Linked DNA regions of Homo sapiens: region 2 is linked to region 1. The links are contacts of gene promoters, found by promoter capture Hi-C in human tissues and cell types (Jung and others, 2019). All regions are on one chromosome and are shown on one strand. The core of a region is centred on a gene start or on the middle of the fragment in contact, and the rest is flanking DNA. Distances in the headings are between cores, read along the strand shown.

The links. The method cuts DNA at HindIII sites, captures the fragments that hold promoters and counts their contacts. A contact is called where the count stands out against the background at its distance.
Region 2: a contact is called between a fragment that was not itself captured here and the fragment with the promoter of VWA3A in region 1, in 2 of the 25 tissues and cell types used here (H1 embryonic stem cells and dorsolateral prefrontal cortex).

What each region holds. Positions count from the first base shown.
Region 1 is chr16:22,090,879-22,093,998 of GRCh38, reverse strand. VWA3A (von Willebrand factor A domain containing 3A) reads right to left here and starts at 1,458. Exons shown (of 34, transcript NM_173615.5): 1 at 1,348-1,458. The coding sequence starts at 1,361. LOC105371129 (a long non-coding RNA gene) reads left to right here and starts at 1,768. Exons shown (of 4, transcript NR_188624.1): 1 at 1,768-1,791. It also overlaps a transcript of MOSMO not described here. The HindIII fragment of the contact is 3,787 bases long and covers 1-2,528 here.
Region 2 is chr16:21,939,793-21,943,258 of GRCh38, reverse strand. It overlaps the pseudogene ABCA3P1. Among named protein-coding and RNA genes, the nearest start is that of UQCRC2, 12 kb to the left of the region's middle. The HindIII fragment of the contact is 6,103 bases long and covers 1-3,466 here.

The DNA of each region.
Region 1 (3,120 bases), core at 209-2,708:
GTTTGAGAGTAGCCTAGCCAACATAACGAGACCCCGTCTCTATATAAAAAAAAAAAAAATACAAAAATTAGCTGGGCATGGCAGTGCGCACCTGTAGTCCCAGCTACTAGGGAGGATGGGGTGGGCAGGTCACTTGAGCCCAGGAGTTTGAGGCTGCGGTGAGCTGTGATCGCATCGCTGCACTCCAGCCTGGGTGTTGGAGTGAGACTCTGTCTCAAACAAACGAACAAACAAAAAAGTGCTGAACCTTTGGTTTCTTCATCTTTAGAATGGAATGGGGATAACAGTAACTGACCTGCCTACTTCAATGCTGTTATCAAGAGGATCAAATGAAATTGAGAAAGTAGAACTGCTTTGTGAAATATGAAGTACTATACAAATGTAGAATACCATAAAATATGGGCTGCATCTTCAAGCACTTCAGCATATGACACAAAAACAATCATGTGTTTCATGAACATTTATAGAGCACTCACTGCGTGCCAGAGAGAACGGGTGCTGGGGAGATAGACATGAACAGGACGCAGCCCTTTCCCTCAGGCCTTTGCTCAAATGAAATCTTATTAGAGAGGTCTTCTGTGAGTACCTTAACTCAAACAGCACCTCCTCCACCTGGCTTTGTCTTTCCCCACAGCATGTTTCACTATATATATTCACTTATTTACTTAACAGTAAATACATTCTATATATTTGCTTATCTACTTGTTTTAAATTTTCTATATATTTAGTTATTTACTGTCTGAACCCCCGCGCACCCCTCCTACATAAACATACTAGAAGTAGATCCATTTGGGCCGGGACTTAGTAATGTTCACAGCTAGGACATTTTTGCATAAAATAGAGTTTAGAACACAGTAGCTGCTCAAAAAACATTTGTTGAATAAATGCACTCAGAGCAGGTCCAGAGTTTAGGCAAAGGTGAGCTGAATTACCCTGGGAGGTGATTGCAGGAGAGGAAAAGAACAACCAGGCCATGGCAGATGGCATTTTGGTCCAAGGGAGAGAGGGAACCTTGATTATTGGGTGAAAATAATAATAATAATAATAGGAGTCTTTCCTGAATCCCATTTGCTGTCCCCAGGGAGGAAACCACTCCTCCTGTGGAAGTCCTCCTGTCGCTGCCCCTTCACTTGGTCATATGGAGTTGTCATGGCCTGTCTCCTAGACCGGCTCCATGACTTCCTTGTCTACTGGCACCCCAGCATTTAGCCCAATGCTCGGCATGTAGGGAGTGGACACTTCACACCCCAAGCTCCCTCGATCTTCTCACTCAGTCCAGAGCTTAGTATCTGGCCTCCCCGACACCCTCTCACCACCCCTGTCAACCCTTGTGATGCTCACCCTCACCTGTATTTCTTCATTTATTTCTCCATCTTTGGGAGAAGGGCTCCTGGCACTCCAGGGCCTTACTTCTCCTGGATCTCACTTCTGGTTTCTCCAAGCTCCTCCAAGCAACTCAGCAGCGAAGCTTGCCCTGCGGGAATGTGTTAGCTGGTCTCCAAGGTAACAGACTGCACCACTGCAGCTCGGGGCAGGGAAAGGGAAAACCTTCCTCACCCCAGGGAAGAAGTCACCAGCTGTGTTGTTGATAACCACTTCTCCCAGGTCACTCTGCTTTTCTCCACCTCACAAAAACCTGGAAGCAGGATTTAGACCTCTTTTCTAATTTCAGAACCTCTCAGTCAGCACAGAACTATGGTTTAGGCCAGTACAGCCCTGGTGCGTGCCTGTGGCCTTCCTGTGGTAGGAACAGAGGAGAGGTTCCAGAGAACTCTGCCACATGTGTCAAAGGTGGTAACTTTCTCTTCCTTCTCAGATTCCCTTGGGTTCCCTGAACACAGTCCCTGGGAGAGGTCAGACAGTCCCCTATCCCTACCCGGTCCAGCCCCACCTAAACCTGGCTAACACAGCCAAGCTCAGTGACCTCTTCGCATCAGAAGAGATCATCTGCCACAGTGGTTCCTAAGCCCGGATGCCCATGAGAATCACCTGGATTGTTTGCTAGGAAAACATTCCCATTCAGGAGATTGATTCAGAACTGTGAAAAGGTGTGGGAATGTGACTTTTTAACAATGGCCCCAGGTGATTATGATGTAACTAGTCCTTGGCCCATAGCTGGGAATCTCTCCAAACCCTTCTTTTATAGTGGTCAAGAGAGACAAAGTGATGTCACCAAAGTCAACCAACTTGTAAGTCGCTAAAGGATCTGTACTTAGTTTTTCATATCCAGGTCATTTCTCAAATCAGTTTTCACTTTCTGAGAATTTTATAAGTTTTATAAACTTGTAAGTTTTATCAGTTAGAACATGAGGTTGGGTGGTGGCTCATGTCTGTAATCCCAGCACTTTGGGAGGCTGAGGCGGGAGGACTGCTTGAGGCCAGGAATTTGAGATCAGCTTGGGCAACACAGTGAGACTCTGTCTCTACAAAAATAAAATAAAATAAAAATTAGTCAGGTACAGTGGCTTGTGCTTGTAGTCCCAGCTACTTGGAAGGCTGAGGTGGGAGGATCGCTTGAGCCCAAGAGTTCAAGGCTACAGCGAGCTATGATCGCACCACTGCACTCCAGCCTGGGCTACAGAGCAAGACCCTGTCTCAAAAATAAAGAACATATGCCACTTGTGGTAGTCATCATATGGTAGGGAACACCCTTCAGATGTTGACCCCAGCAGCCATGCCTATAGGCCAGGTCAGAAACAACCAACGTGCTCAAAATAGAAACTCCTTATCAACCACTGGTCACTGGGGTTGAGAGCACCATGTATAAGACCACAGCATTTGTTATGTGGCCAGCACCAATAAGGCAGAAAATGAGGAAGATCAGAAAGAGGTAAGAAGGTCATAAGTGGCTGTGAGCAACCAATGGCTACTCGGTGAACAAGAGATGAGGGTCCTTGTGCCCATCTTGATGGAAATTTTGGGTGGAAGGGGCTGGCTAATTTTGACAACATTTTTTTTTTTTTAGGCACGGGAGCCCCAAGCAGGTCGTCTACCACCCTCACACCTTTCTTTGCTTCCTGCATACATGGGTTTTCAACACTGTGCATAGAAGTAAAGTCCAACACTGGAAACTCTTTGTTCCTGCTTTCTTGTACTTGAGCCTACACAACACACATTCTC
Region 2 (3,466 bases), core at 825-3,324, 150 kb after region 1:
AAAAACCACATGATTAGCTCAATAGATGCAGAAAAGGCCTTCGATAAAATTCAACATCCCTTCATGTTAAAAGTTCTCAATACACTAGATATTCAAAGGACATACCTCAAACTAATAAGAGCCATGACATGACATATGACAAACCCACCGCCAATATCATACTGAATGGGCAAAAGCTGGAAGCATTCCCCTTGAAAACTGGCACAAGAACAACTGGCACAAGAATGTCCTCTCTTACCACTCCTATTCAACATAGTATTGGATACAGTATCTTGGTTGGCAGGGTTTTTTTCTCTTCAGTACTTTGAACATGTCATCCTACTCTCTCCTTGCCTATGAGGTCCTGGTTGAGACACCTATAGCTAGCCTTATGGAATCTCCCTTATATGTTATTTGCTTTTTTTTTCTCTTGCTGCTTTCAGATCCTCTCTTTGTGCTTGATTTTTGACCATTTAATTATAATGTCTTGATGTAGCCTTGTTTGTATTGAATCCGAATGCAGATATGTGACCCTCTTGTACCTGGATATTTATGTTTTTCTTAGTATTTGGAAAATCTTCTGCTTTTATTTCTTTAAGCTTTCCAACAATTTGTTTTTTCTTCTTCCTCACAAACTCTAATAATGTAAACACTGGCTCTTTTGATGCTGTTCTATAAATCCCATGAGCTTTCTTCATTCCTCTTAATTTTTCTTTTAATCATCTAACTGTATATTTTCAAAAAACCTATTTTGAGTTGAGATATTTTTCTCTGCTTGATAAACTCTGCTGTTAATGCTTTCTACTGCATTATTCATTTTATTCACTGTATATTACATATCCATGATTTCTGTTTGATTTTTTAAAAAGTAATTTCAATTTCTCTATTAAGTTACTAGTCTGGGTCATTTATTGTTTACCCGATTTTGTTGAATTGTTTTTCTGTGTTATCTTGAAGTGTGCAGAGCTTTTTGTTTTCGTTTTTGTTTTTAAGATGGAGTCTCACTCTGTTGCCCAGGCTGGAGTCCAGTGGCACGATCTCGGCTCACCGCAACATCCACCTTCTGGGTTCAAGCGATTCTCCTGCCTCAGTCTCCCAAGTAGCTGGGATTACAGGCACCCACCACCATGCCCGGCTAATTTTTGTATTTTTGGTAGAGATGGGGTTTCACAATATTGGCCAGGCTGGTCTCAAACTCCCGACCTCGTGATCCACCTGCCTTGGCCTCCCAAAGTGCTGGGATTACAGACGTGAGCCACTGTGCCCAGCCTATAGAGCTTTCCTAAAGTGATTTATTGATCACATCAAATAGAACTCTTGACACAATAAGTCCTCAAAAATATTTGCCACATGAATGCATAAATGAATATTCAACTTCTTAATGGACATATCCATCTACATGTGTCAAGGGCACACCATAAACACTATGACCAACACCGAGGTGATAATTTTTCTACACAGCTCGTTCTCCACATATGCTTGACCATCCATTTCGTATCTATTTTCTGATTTTCTTCTCTTTTTGCTTTTTTGAGACAGAGTCTCTCTCTGTCACCCAGGCTAAAGTGCAATGGCATGACCTCTGTTCACTGGAACCTCCGCCTCCCCGGTTCAAGCAATTCTCCTGCCTCAGCCTCCTGAGTAACTGAGACCACAGGTGTGTGCTACCATGTACAGCTAATTTTTGTATTTTTAATGGATATGGGGATTCATCATGTTGGCCAGGCTGGTCTCAAACTCCTGACCTCAGGTGATCCGCCCACCTCAGCCTCCCAAAGTGCTGGGATTACAAGCATGAGCCACTGTGCCCGGCCCTGATTTTCATTCTTACTGTGTAATCAATTTTGCTATTTTCCATTGCCTAGGAGACAAATTTTCAACCCCTTAGCCTAACACACAACGGGAACTTCTGCGGTATTTTGCTCAGCCTAACAAAGTGGAAACTAAGATGAAAAACCAGAATTATTAAAAGCCTTGCCATTGCCCATGCTTTAGGTTAAGGAAAGAGAGATAAGAGATCGAAATGCATGCTCTCTCTTGTACTGTTCCATGTAGGCGGAGAGGTGCTTACTGAATTTAGCATGAAGAAACGGCACTCAGAAACCAAACTACTCTTGAAAGGAGAGAAATACCAGTTCTTATTTGCATTTCAATACCATATCCTAGCTGAGACAGCAAAAGCATAAAGTTGCATGAGCAGTGTGAAGGAAAAAACCTTAAAATTTGGCATGAATAATCTGTAAAAATAATTGAGAATTATGCTAAAATAGGACTTTAGATATATAATTTATTTTTAGTTTTTATTTATTATCATTAATTTTTTTAGAGATGGGGTCTTGCCAGGCTGGAGTGCAATGGCACAATCATAGCTCATTGCAGCCTTAAACCCTGGGGCTCAAGCAATTCTCTGGCCTCAGCCTTCCAAGTTGCTGGAATTACAGGCATGAGCTACTGCGCCCAACTAATTTATATGGACAGCACAAACATAAAAGTGCCTTGTTAGGTGATGTAAGAGTTTGTGAGGACTTCTGCTTTTTGTGAAACTTAGCATAATCTGGCATAAGAGACTATAATATCAAACATTGCCAAAGGAACATTATAGAAAATCAATACCTATCAATAACTCACAGAAAACTGGTATTGAAGACATAAATCATATGGATGGTGAGAACAACAAATATGATTTAACACATTTCTCAAACTCCTGAGCTCAAATGACCTGCCCACCTCAGCCTCCCAAAAGTGCTGGGATTACAGGCGTGAACCAGTGCGCCCGGCCAATTTAATACATTTCTGACAAAGGTAGCACAACTTAATTTACCTGGAAATGTTGTTGCAACATAACATTTAAAATCCTCTAATTTATCTTCAGTCTTGACCTTGACCTTCAGGATGTAAATGTTGCCAAACTTGCTCTTGAGATGCTGAGGGCTGCCCAAGCAAGTGAACTTCCCTTGCACCATGATGGCTAGACTGGTACAGAGGGCGTCACATTCCTCCATACTTGGAAAACAAAAGGGCAGAATGTTGTAAGGGTAAAAATAAAAAGTTCTCTTTTGGAAGACATTGTGTAGTTCAATCAGAGCCAGAATTTTGTGACCCTATTTTCAATCAGAATTTGTATTTTTCCAATCATAAAGCACATAGATGGGAAGTGGGAATTTTTCAAACGAAAAAGAACACAGCGCTCAATTTTCAAATAGAACATCTTCTGAAGTCCTGTCTTTTCCTCACTTTTTTTTTAAACTCAGTGAGGATTTTTGGCCATTTGATTTATTAGGATTAACATGAATCCTAATTCCTGATGAGGAGCTAACATACTCAGGCAAGTTTAGTGTCCAATATTATCCACTGGGCCTAAATAATTCCTTCTTATAGCCACTAAAACTCTTGCTAGCCTTCAACCAAGCCTCCCAATGAGCCATACCTGTGGGAGGTCATAACGATGGCTTTTCCACTTTCACGTGTCTTTGTCACCATGTTCCAG